Linked DNA regions of Homo sapiens: regions 1, 2 and 3 are each linked to region 4. Evidence: promoter capture Hi-C in human tissues and cell types (Jung and others, 2019). All regions are on one chromosome and are shown on one strand. The core of a region is centred on a gene start or on the middle of the fragment in contact, and the rest is flanking DNA. Distances in the headings are between cores, read along the strand shown.

Region 1 (3,113 bases), core at 187-2,686, 100 kb after region 4:
GCTTTATAGAGAATAGGATAAATATTTTCATCACTTTAGCAATCTTCATGAAGTTAACCTAGAAGAAAGTCAACTTTTTCACGTCCGCTGCTCCTTTAGAAGTCAGCACCAATGCAGTGGCAAGAGGACATGCAAGTTGGGAATTTTAAAAGGTGAGGTTTGCTCTCCAGCGCTGGTCCCTTCCAGGTGTGACCTTCACATCTTCTTTCCATGAGGTCCGGGCTCCCATTTGCAGAGGCCGACAGTTCCCAGAGTGACTTTCCTCAGAAAACAGGATCTTAGAGGAGACAGTCAGAGGAGGGGCTTCATCCTCCCCCCTGCACAGCCCCTTGTAGGGATTGGAAAGCGAGGGTCTCTGCCCATGAGGCAGCAGTCACCTTAAGCTGTAGTGTGGGAGGAAGCCTAGGGAATATAGGTTGGTGCTGGGACAGCATTTCCTGGTTCTGACTTAGAGAAAGTGTTAAAATCCCGACATTCCCGACTCCTTCTTTGTGGGAGCCCCTGCCCTGCAGATCTCACGGGGTTGTTGTGAGGGTCACCTGGGGTGATGTGTTTGGAAGTGCTTTGTGAATGACACAGTGGGCCTTCCTATTCCTGTCGCTGGCCCTTCAACCTTGAATACTAATTTCCTGGGATCTCCAGGTTTCAAGGTCTAATCCTGGAAGGGTATGAGGTGTCCCCATTGGAACATTCTACAGCACTTCCTGGGAGGTCCCTTGCTTCCACCTTTGCCCAACATAACCCCTGCTCCTGTTCCCTCAGCCTGGAGAGCTTGCCCAGGGGCACAAGATGGTACTGGACTGAACTTCTCTTTGGGGAAGGTGATTACTTCCTCTTTTCAGCTGTCCCTCTTCCTAACTTGCCCTGTGGAATTCCAGGGCTCTATGCAGCATTTGCCAGACATGAGAGAGAGAACTTCTAGGGCAGGGATCTGCCCTGGGTGGGGATGGAGGAGTATTCTAGAGTCTGGGTGTCAGAAGTGTGAGCCCTGCCCAGGGGGGTGATGGACTATCCCTGGGGGCCAACATGCTGCTGTGTGGGAAGCCAGGGAAGATGCTGCTCTTTCCCATCACCTTTGGGATCTATGGAGTTGTCCACCCCGACCCCCGGTCTCCTCACCAGTGGCCTCCACCTTCCCCCTGACCTGTGCCGCCCCTCATGTGAGGTTTCATCACCTGCACCAGTGCCTGCCTCTCTGCCTCCAGACCCATGGCTCATGGCCCTCTCTCTCCTCACCCCTTCCATGCCTGTTCCCTCTTCCCCTAGAGCCCATTTCCATCCATACCCCACCGAGTCTTTCACCACATCCTCACCTGACCCCGCACCTCCCCAGCCCACCTTTCCCTTGAAGGAGTGAATGCCATCCCAAAATATGCCCAATTGGTATATTGATAATTTTATGTTAAAAACATTAGAGAAATTGTAGTTTTAGAAAGGGTGAGCTGACCTGCCTCTTCCTGCATGTAGCAAGCCATAAAGACTCCTCTGGGGGCGGCACCCCCACACAAGGGCAAGAAGAGAGCCTTTAGCACCAGAGACTGGGGATTAGGGGTAGCAACGGACCCGAGTAAATGTACTTCACGAAGTAAGCCGTGTTGCCCACTGATTTTATATTCCTGCATATCACCTAGAGGCTCCCCTGGAAATTTACTGTCCCTAGCCAGATTCTGCTTGGCCTTGTCATTTCTTCTCAAATTTATTATTCTTTGTCTAAAAAGTACAAAAGCATCTTGCTTTGGCTACTTCTTCAGACGTCACTAATTTGGGAAGATCCCCATGTACCTTTAATATAATACAATTTTTATGCTTTTCTCTTGTTAATATGCTTGGTTTCAATTTGGTTTCTAGCCGAGGTTCCAGCCAAGGATCCCATGTAAGAGCTAAGTGGGGTTGGAGGCGATCTCTGGGTCTCTGCAGAACGTGGCGCAGAGCCCGGGGCCCTCCCTCACAGGCTAGGACGCTGCTTATTCTGGAGCTACTGCAGCTAAGACCCGGGACCTCTGACCCGAGCCAGCAAAGGCAGGGTTCTTACTGCCAGCCTTCCAGGTCTCTGCTGTCTGTGTCTTTTTCTCTCTCTAAATTGGGATTGACAGGATAAAAGATTTGTGTCTTTTTCTGTCTCTAAATTGAGATTGACAGGATAAAACATTTGTGAACTAATTCTTTGGGTAAAAAGCGACTTTTAGTGTTTTTGTGAGTTCTCTAGGTTTCTATTTGATCCTTTTGATCTCAGAGATGGTCTTTGTTTTCCTTTGTCTCTGTCTTTTTCCTGCCATTTGTCATAAGGAGAGGAAGCGTCAGGTAGAGAACACAGGCACAGGTCCTTCAAAGTCTGCTGGGTCCCCAGCGCTTGGGTTTGTGGCACTTGTCAGACCCATGTCTGCCTAAGCAAACTGTGCTGTGGGTCCCTGAAACAAAAAAACAAAAGGGATGGGGTTCCCCTCTCGCCTCGTTTTATGTCCTGAGAGCTTGGCTGTGTGACAAGGAGGACGCCTCTCTGGTCTCCGCCATCTGAGGGGCACAGAGTGTGGCTCTGTGTCAGGCAGCAGTCTGACCAGACTGGGGACTCAAGACGCATGAGGCCCAGGTGGCACTCTCTCTGTCTGTATGTGTCAAGCGCTCACGGAGTTTTGTTGTAAGACGCCAATTCATAAGGGCTTTCTTCATCTTATCCTTGTTGCCCTGATTAGTGCTGGGAGATTCCCATTCCAGTATCACCTGCCCAGTGTCACAGTGAGTGGACCTGAGGCTGAAGGCATCTCAGCTTCCACGGGAGACTGGAGGTGTGGTCTGCACAAGCACTCTCCCTACCTGCACGTGGCAACGCAAGTCTTTGCTTTCTTCATCCATCTCTGAGAGTGAATTTTTGGATGACGGGCTGCCTTTTCTGCACGTACTGCAGGAAGACGCCTTGCGTTCTGGTAATGATGGGAAGCCACCTCCTGGCCTTTCCCTGGAAAGGCAGATTAAGGCACTACTGGAACATATGCACCGGCGTAGATCTGAATTGGCCACGGCCAGAGATGGATTTGTGTTTAAAACATGTTAGAGAGTGCTCGTTCTAAACAACTGGTCTGTTGGCATCTATGGGAAGATCACACTGAGGAACACAG
Region 2 (3,007 bases), core at 333-2,832, 72 kb after region 4:
AATGGGGTTGTTTTTCTCTTGTAAATTTCTTTAAGTTCCGTAGAGATGCTGAATATTATGTCTTTGTCAGATGCATAGTTTGCAAATATTTTCTCCTATTCTGTAGGTTTTCTGTTTACTTTGTTGATGGCTTCTTTTGCTCTGCAGAGGCTCTTAAGTTTAATTAGATTCCATCTGTCAAATTTTGCTTTTGTTGCAATTGCTTTTGGTGTCTTCATCATGAAATTTTTGTCCGTTTCTATGTCCAGGATGGTATTGCCTAGGTTGTCTTCCAGGGTTTTTACAGTTTTGGGTTTTGCATTTTAGTCTTTAATCCAGCAGTCCACAACCTTTTTGGCACCAGGGACTGACTCTGTGGAAGACAATGTTCCCACAGAGAGCAGTAGGCAGGGAGATGATTTCGGGATGAAACTGTTCCACTTCAGATCATCAGGTATTAGTTAGATTCTCAAAAGGAGTGCACAACCTAGATCCCTCACATGTGCATTTCACGATAGGGTTTGCACTCTTATGAGAATCTAATGCTGCTGCTGATCTGATGGGAGGTGGAGCTCAGGTGGTAATGCTTGCTTACCAGCCACTCACCTCCTGCTGCACGGCCTGGTCCCTAACAAGCCACAGAATGGTACCAGTCCATTGCCCAGGGGTTGGGGACCTCTGCTTTAATCCATCTTGAGTTAATTTTTGTATATGGTGAGAGGAAGGGGTCCAGTTTCAATCTTCTGCATATGGCTAGCCAGCTATCCCAGCACCATTTATTGAATAGAGAATCCTTTCCCCAGTGCTTGTTTTTGTCAGGTTTGTCAAAGATCAGATACTTGTAAGTACGCGGCCTTATTTCTGGGTTCTCTATTCTGTTCCATTGGTCTATATGCCTGTTTTTGTCCCGGTACCATGCTGTTTTGATTACTGTAGCCCTGTAATACTGTTTGAAGTCAGGTAGCGTGATGCCTCCAGCTTTGTTCTTTCTGCTTAGGATTGCCCCTGGGCTATTCTGGTTCCATATGAATTTTAAAATAAAAACTCTCAACTTTCTCTTTGTTCTTGGAACACACTGAAGACCACCCGATCTGTGAGTATGCCCCACTTTGCCATTCTTGCCTCCTAAATAATCAGTGTTAAGTTTAGAGAGTCATCTCTATATTTTATTTGACTTCAGCAATGTAAACTGTGAGTCAGAGCTGCAGTGGTGGAGGCTGCAACCTTGGCAGCGGGAAGGTCAGTTCACAGGGTTTCTCGGCATGCTCCTCCTGTGTCCCCACCGTCTATAGGTGCCCTCCATCATACATGTGCCCTTGGCTTGTAGACTGGCCTGATCTTTCCAGAACTATTTTTGGTCATGCCTCATGCATGAGCTTGTGCCTGAGCACAATGATGTGAAAATTAATTTAGTCATATCTTGTCCAAACTAAAAACATTGAACCATTTTAAAGGAAAGCAGCTTCCCAATGTTGCCATATATTGTTTTAAAATAATTGTAAAAAGTAGTTGCTCACGTAACAGCACTGGGCCTGCCATTGACCTTGCACGAGATGCCTCACACACATCTGAGAGGCTGTTACTGTGGACGCAGTCCTCAGTGCTGCTGCTGCATGGGACCCTGCTTCAGAGGAGCTCTGCAACAGCAAAAGTGCCAAGCAGATCGAAGAGGACACAGCAGGACCATGTGGGGCCCTCCTCCCAGTGGTCAGTTACATCTTTTGGTATCATGGTGGAGGTTGGGGGTGCCCCTGAGCTTCCTGTGCCCCCTTCCCATGCCCACTGTACCCACCATGACAAGCTGAGCATGTTTCTGTAGCCATCCTCTACCCTGAGTAGATACTCTGCATTTTTACTGTGCAATGCTTTCAGGACTGTGCCTCTGTGGTCACCCCTGTCGTCCAGCTCCGTTATGGCCATGGGAACCAGAACCTGGCATGTTCCAGCACCTCATTCTGCAGTTAGAAATCAACAAAACCTCCCAAATGGGAGAGGAGGGCCTAAAACCCTTGGGAAATTTCCTTTGCGAGATTTTCATGAGACTTGGAATGTCCTGAAGTTTAATATGTGAAGGTATTTGAATGACACATAGAACTCCGTGTAAGACAGGTGTAGCCAAAAGAGAAAACCATTCATGTCAACAGTCTCCCTCGTGCTCTTTCAGAGACCCTCTGAATTATAGCACCCAGAGGCCCTGGATGTCTTGGGAGCGGATGAGCCCCATGCACAGGCAGGAGAGTGGCGCATTCTCTGGGTAACGAAGTATCCTATAGCTAGAAGATTAGAAACAATTCTACATGAAACATTTGAAAGTATCTTTTGATCAGTTTATTTATTTCTGAAGACATAGATTTCCTTTGGGAAACAGTAGCCCAGAGAAAGGTCTCCACAACCAAAAAGCACTGTGAATTGTTAGTTGCATTTTGCCTGGTCACGTGAGTGAATTTCCTCCTGGATTGCATTGAATCTGCACTGTTTTGGAGACTGGCAGATCCGTCGTTGATAAAGCCACATGTGCAGGGTCATCATCAGTTGATGTACTTCCATCCTAGCTGATACTGTTGATTTTTCCCTGCCAGGAAGCTTCCTGACACAGCCTGCACCCCAGTGGACTTCCCAAAGCAAGTTGAGTCTGACTTCGCACCCCTGACATCAGAATCATCTGACTTCTGGGCACGCCACTGAATACTGATGTACCTGAAGGAACCCTGGGTACCAAACATGCTCAAGTGAATGAATGGTGTCCAGGACAAAGCCCAGCAGGTGTCCAGACAATGGCCTCCCACCAGAGATCTTGTCAGCACGCCGCTCTGAGCACTGTGTGCCTTAGTGTCTTTGTGTCCTGGTTGCAATGAAGTCTTTCTCCATAATGTCAGTTTTTATACTTTTTGACCTAGTAGGACATCAGATGATGAATTTTCATGTGATATGAATTCAGCCTAGGTATGTCTTAGGATTGGTTTAGAGGGAAGACTGAAGCAGGTGAAATGGCAACCCCTTGAATACACATCTGTAATAAATTGAAAAA
Region 3 (3,164 bases), core at 511-3,010, 120 kb after region 4:
ATTTCTATTTTTGATTGCTTGTGACCTTTATAGCAGCCATGCATGAGGACACCCTCCACCCCTACCCTTGTTACTAACACGTACAATTGAACTAAAAAATATCAAGACATAATACTCAACAAACAACCCAGTCCCTGCTTCTCATGTTAGTTAAAAGCACACCAACAGGTAACTGGGAGATTCATACTGTGTAAAGTAGCAAATATTCCAGGCCAAATATTCCTTGTGGGAGGAGCAGTGATGATCTCTGCAGCTCTCCATGCAGTGGGAGGCCTCCCTTGGACTGGTCGTTAGTGAACCTGCTTCACACCCTCCACAGCTCTTCCTGCAGTCTTCCAAGGCCCCCAGACTTGCCTTGTCCCCTCTCACAGGAGTGCTCTGTCTGCCTGTTGATGCTGGAGGTGCAGGTGGGAGCTTCTCGGGCCAACTGCTGGGGTCTCTGTCTCCTCAGATCTGCTGCAGGAGAACATCTTCCTGTAACCTCATCCTGTGTGTCTGCCCATTGGCTCTGCCAACTCACGGGGTGGCTGACATACTCTGGACAAGACACCCACCAGCATGAGTTTGCCTCTTCTTTGTCACGGCAGTAAGGCTTTGTTCTAATTGTGTCACAGGAGCATTGAGGAGGACAGAAGCAGCAACTGTGACCTCCCCCTTGGCCATCAGAGGCACAGCTCTGCCCAGCTGCAGGCCACCTGCGGGCAGACCATGGCTCTCTGACACTCTGCATTTGAAAGCAAGTCTACAGTTGTCTTCCAAAGTGCTGACTCTTTTGAAACATCATCAAAAAGAAAAAAGAGGAGAGATTGGAAGAAAAGCTGTGAGATGATGGAGGCCTGAGAGGGAGAACTGAAGAAGGGTGGAGGACCTCAGGCCAGGGCCAAGAGGGACCAGCACTAAAGCCAAGGGTGGGCAGGAGCAGGGGCTTGTGGATGTCCCAACTCAGACAGTGCTGCCCTCTTGCACCATCCCTCAACATACAGGTGGGCAGTGTGACTGCCTGTGCCAAGGTGGGCAGGAAGGGGAACTGCCTCCTATCAAGGTATGGGAATTTCCTCCTGTGTAGGGAAGTGGAGAACCTATTATTTTTGCTACAACAATGTTCCTTCTCATCTTGTCTCCCTCAAATAGATGCTGGGATCCTGGCCAGGAGGTGCTGTCTTCCGGTTTTCTGTCTGTCCCTGGGCTGGAGTCTCAAGTGACAGGACAGGACACCTGGCAGACTCCTGAAAAACTCTGGCATGCCTGCAGTGTGCCCTGAAATGGACGCTGCCGTCCCTGCAACAGGGACACATGCTCCTTTCTCTAGAGTTACAGTGTCTTCAGGCTTTTCATCTTCATGGAGGTCAGTTTTTACCTTAAGTTATTAATTTTCTTACAACATTTAGCATCTTGGCAGCAGGCTGTGATGCTTGAGCGGTGCTCACACACTGAGTTCTTAGACCTGATAATGCTTATTTTAAAGTTGCAAGGTCTACTACATTGACCCGAGGAATAAAAATTAAATCTTAAGTTCCCCCAGTTGACTGATAGAACCCTCTCTTGGCCAAAGGGCCCCAGAGAAACCTTAAAAACTGAGCTCCTGGCCATGATGGGATGGGAGGTCAGATACACTTCACCATGTCCCTTCCATATTAACCTTTAGCCAGAACTCTTTCCTAAGGAGTAAGCAGAAACCAGCTCTGGCAAACAAGAAACACAGGACTCATTCCTTTATCATCTGTAGCCAATCATCTGAGGCCGTGGCTGGACTCACCCTACCTCTTTGCAGTTTTGGAGTGACAGTCACCAGCTTCACAGTGCATCCTTCCTAAAATGGACCACCGCCTCTGGACCAGTTTTGGCTGGCTCACAGAGGATGCACAGTGAGTGGTTTGTGGCCCCTGCTTCACCTTTTGATGTCAGAGGCTAAAAACTACACCCTCGCATGAACACGTGACCCATGAAGAGGCATGAAACTCAATGGCACATTCACATTTCTCCTTTCATAAATATTCATTGCTCCTCCTATAGTTTATTGAATATGTATGTTCTGCCACTCCATTCAGCATAAATTCCACACAGAATACAGTCTCTCCTTCATATCCACGGGTTCTGCATCCATGGATTCAGCCAACCTCGATTCAAAAACATTTGAAAAAAAAGAATGATTGTGTCTGTACTAAATGTACAGATTTTTTCTTGCCATTATTCTCTGAACAATACAATATAACAACTATTTACATAGCATTTACATTGTATTAGATATAAGTAATCTAGAGGTGATTTAAAGCAATCTTGTCCAACCTGTGGCCTACCCTCCAACACAAATTTGTAAACTTTCTTAAAACATTATGATTTTTTTTTTTGCGATTTTTTAAAGCTCATCAGCTATCGTTAGTGTTAGTGTATTTTATGTATGGCCCAAGACAATTCTTCTTCCATTGTGGCCCAGGAAAACCAAAAGATTGGACACCCCTGATTTAAAGCATGTGGAGGATATGTGTAGGTTATATGCAAATACTATACTTTCATATATAAGGGACTTGAGCATCCGGTAATTTTGGTGTCCAAATCACCAAAACCCTTCCAGAGGAGGAGTTTTGGGACCAATCCCTTTGAAGATACCAAAGGATAATTGTATTTCTCTGATCACTGGTCACTAAAAAGTGTAGAGATTTCTCCGCACCAACCATTCCTTCAGCAGATAACAGCTGGGTGTCTCCTAATTCAATTCCATTCTGAAACTCTCTACCTGGACAGTGTCAGACCTCACAGGTTAAGGGCTCAGTCCCACCAGACTGTCCCTGCTTCAGATGCCAGTCACAAGTAGTAGGTTGTGACCTGTGCTCCTGCCCAACTGGCTGCAAATCAGGATTCCCAGCATCCCCTCCTCGGGTTTGATTAATTTGCTACAGTGGCTCACAGAGATCAGGGAAACACTTTACTTACACTTCTTCATTTATTACAAGGGATATTTCAAAGGATGAAAATGAAGAGGCAGATGGAAGAGGTGCGCAGGGTGAGGCATCTGGGAAGGGGCTCAGAGCTCCCACACCAGCTCCAGACACACCACCCTCCAGACTCCACGTATTCAGCTATCTGGGAGCTCTCCAAACCCTGTCCTTGTGGGTTTTCACTGAAGCGGCATTACAGAGGCATCATCAACCACATCACTGGCAATT
Region 4 (2,803 bases), core at 169-2,668:
GGAGCCAATGAGCTTATCCACCACAGATGGCCGCAGTGGTAATGAAATAATTCTAGCTGGGTCCATAGCACAGAGCTCAGAACATATTGAGTGCTCCGCCTGGCTGTTTTACCAGCCAAGTCAAGTGCTAAGCACTTTAGGTAGACTCATCTCATTTAATCCTTGCTACAGCCCCATGAGTGTAGTGATTTCTACTGACAACAGGGAAACAGAGGCACTGAGTGGTGAAGTGACCTGTCCCACAGCTAGTCAGTTGAGGTGGGATTCAAACCCAGGGCAGACTGATGTCGGTGAGTGCTGGGCTGGATTTCACCCACCAGCTGCCTGGGGCCAGGATCCTAGGGCTGGTGGGGCCTGCAGATCACTCTGCTCTGAGCCGCCAGCAATCTGGGTGCGGGCCAGAGAGCCGTCCTCCTCGGTTAGAATCCTGCAGCCAGTCTCCCTGCTGTGCAGACACATAATTATATTTCACATTAAAGGGGAAGCTGGAGGCCAAGGGGGCCAAGGAGCCCTTTGAGGCTCATGCTCTGGGCACAGACTGGCCTCCTCGGCCCAATTCTGAGGCCCTAGGGCCGAGCTGGGGGTCAGACTGGTGACAAAATGGAGTTCCCCTGGGTCAGTGTCCAGGCGAGCAGGTCTGTCTGCCAGGATGAAAGACTTGGCCCCTGCGGGAGGCTCAGAGATATGAGGCCCAGACAATAGGCCTCAGAAAGCTGGGAGGGCAGGGCATTTGGGGACAGGTTGGGAAGAAAGCCTGAGCCTCCAGAGACAGGGGCTCGAAAGAGAAGGGGGTCACATGGGGATCCGGTCGGCAGAGAGAGGTCCAGGGAGGAGCACAGAGAAGGCAGGAGATGGGAGAAGCCAAGCAGCTCAAGATGGAGAGGAGAAAAATGCTATTAGGGTGGGATGGTGTGTGTAGAGGGTGCGTGCCTGGTGTGCAGGGGAAAAGGGCTCTGTGGGAATGCACAAGCTTAGACCTGTGTGTGCGTATGCACACGTGCAGATGCCATCCTGCATGTGCACATATGAGCGAGTGTGCACATGTGCCCCTGCGAACATCATGCATGTGGGGGCATGTATCCTGCATGTTTATGCCTGTGTGTGTGCTCGCCATGCACCTGTGCGTGCGCGCGTGTCCCCGGCGGACGTGCCTGCATGTGTGTGTATGTGTGTGTGCGCGCATGTCCCCGGGAAGTCGTGCCTGTGTGTGTGTGTGTGTGTGTGTGTGTGTGTGTGTATATATATATGTGTGTGTGCGCGCGCGCGTCCCAGTGCGCAAGTGGCTGGCGGTGTGTGTGTAGGGGGCGGCCCGGGACTAGGAGGGGCTCGGGGCCAGGCCGGAGCCGTGGTAGGCTGGTGCAGCGGCTGCGCGGCGCGGCGCGGCGCGGGGCGGGCGTGCTCTCCGCGGAGAGTTAGAGGAGTTGCCGAGCTGAGCTCCGGTGGAGCGAGGCGCGGAGCTGGGTGCGCGCCGAGCCTCTGCCTCCCGCCGCCTCCTCGCCCTCCATTCCTCGCTCCCCGTCTTCTCCCGGCCACACCGCCACTGCTGCCGCCTCCCTGGGAACAGTAGCCGGGGGAGGGGGACTGGCGCGGTCAGAGCCTGCGAGGAGGTGCGGGGCGCCGGGGCGTAGGGGAGCGCGCCGGGCCCTGCCCGAGATCAGATAACAGCCGGCGGGGGAGGGGGTGGGCCGGCCGTGCTCACAGCCGGACCGAGGGACCGACGCCAGCCGCCCCGGCCCAAGCGAGCGCCCAGCGGCCGGGGGCGCCGTCCAGGCGCGCGCCCCCGACCCGTGGCTGGACCAGGGCGATCCGCTTTGCAGAGAAGACGCGCCCCTCGGCATGGAGCGCCCCCGGGAGCTGCCCTGAGGCGGTGGCGGCAGCGGCGGCGATGCAGCCAGCGCGGCAGCTGCCGGGGCCAGGAACGGCCGCCCGGAGCTTGGAGGACGCCGAGCGCGCCGCGCCCGGGCCACTGACCGAGGTAAGTGCGCGGCCGCGGGCGCATGGTCCCTCCCGGGCCCGGCCCCAGTTCCCCGCAGGCCGCGCCTCGCCACTAGCCCGGCCCGGAGCTAGCACGAGGTTGTGCAGCAACAGGGAAGGTGGAGCGGGAGGGTGTTTTCTTCCTCTCGTTTTATTTTTTTCCCTCCCTTGGTGAGACATCGGAGGAAATGCTGACTGCGAGCTTTTCTTTTCCTGCCATGTCTCCGGCTACCACCACAAGGAACTTTGCTCCTGGCTAACCTTCGTCCTGGGGGGCGCTCCGGGAAACTTTGAGGAGCCCTCGGCCCCCCTCTGACTGGTTTGCACTAGGGGGCTCGGGAGGGAGCGTGCGGAAGCACTCTGGCGCGCGGCACGGGTCCTACGCGTGACCTTCCCGGAGACCCCGCGATCGAGGTGGGGTTCGGAGGTGGGCGCCCGGGCTATATGAGCCGCCCCGAGAATGCCTCCCGTCAGAGACCTGCGGGTTCTTGGAGTCGTGTCTCTTTCTCACCTCCCGTGCTGTAATGGAGTAAAAATATTCTGGAAATGATTCCATGCCAGCAAGTCAGCCAAGTCCAGAGGCTCCCTTTTGCTTTTAGAAGTCGGCCTTGATCTCCGAGGGGATGGCCGCTGGCTGAGAAGCTCCCAGGGTTTCAGGGCCAGGGTCCACCCTGCGCGCGCACGGCCTCTCCGGGTGCCCTGGGGGAGCGGGGCGGGAATCAGGGGCTCATGGGCAGAGACAGCTGGGGTGGGGCGCTCCTTGGGGGGTTCAGATGGGAGTTGAGGCCCAAGCGAGTGTCTGTGCCTCGGTTTTGATCCAGCGTGCCCA

What was found. The method cuts DNA at HindIII sites, captures the fragments that hold promoters and counts their contacts. A contact is called where the count stands out against the background at its distance.
Region 1: a fragment that was not itself captured here is called in contact with the fragment with the promoter of KCNJ12 in region 4 in 2 of the 25 tissues and cell types used here (H1 embryonic stem cells and IMR-90 fibroblasts).
Region 2: a fragment that was not itself captured here is called in contact with the fragment with the promoter of KCNJ12 in region 4 in 3 of the 25 tissues and cell types used here (IMR-90 fibroblasts, dorsolateral prefrontal cortex and spleen).
Region 3: a fragment that was not itself captured here is called in contact with the fragment with the promoter of KCNJ12 in region 4 in 2 of the 25 tissues and cell types used here (H1 embryonic stem cells and mesendoderm cells).

What each region holds. Positions count from the first base shown.
Region 1 is chr17:21,477,340-21,480,452 of GRCh38, forward strand. No RefSeq gene overlaps it. Among named protein-coding and RNA genes, the nearest start is that of LINC02693, 73 kb to the right of the region's middle. The HindIII fragment of the contact is 5,667 bases long and covers 1-3,113 here.
Region 2 is chr17:21,446,565-21,449,571 of GRCh38, forward strand. No RefSeq gene overlaps it. Among named protein-coding and RNA genes, the nearest start is that of KCNJ12, 72 kb to the left of the region's middle. The HindIII fragment of the contact is 6,245 bases long and covers 1-3,007 here.
Region 3 is chr17:21,497,089-21,500,252 of GRCh38, forward strand. No RefSeq gene overlaps it. Among named protein-coding and RNA genes, the nearest start is that of LINC02693, 53 kb to the right of the region's middle. The HindIII fragment of the contact is 4,866 bases long and covers 1-3,164 here.
Region 4 is chr17:21,374,939-21,377,741 of GRCh38, forward strand. It overlaps KCNJ12 (potassium inwardly rectifying channel subfamily J member 12), which reads left to right and starts at 1,419. Exons shown (of 3, transcript NM_021012.5): 1 at 1,419-1,975. The HindIII fragment of the contact is 9,762 bases long and covers 1-2,803 here.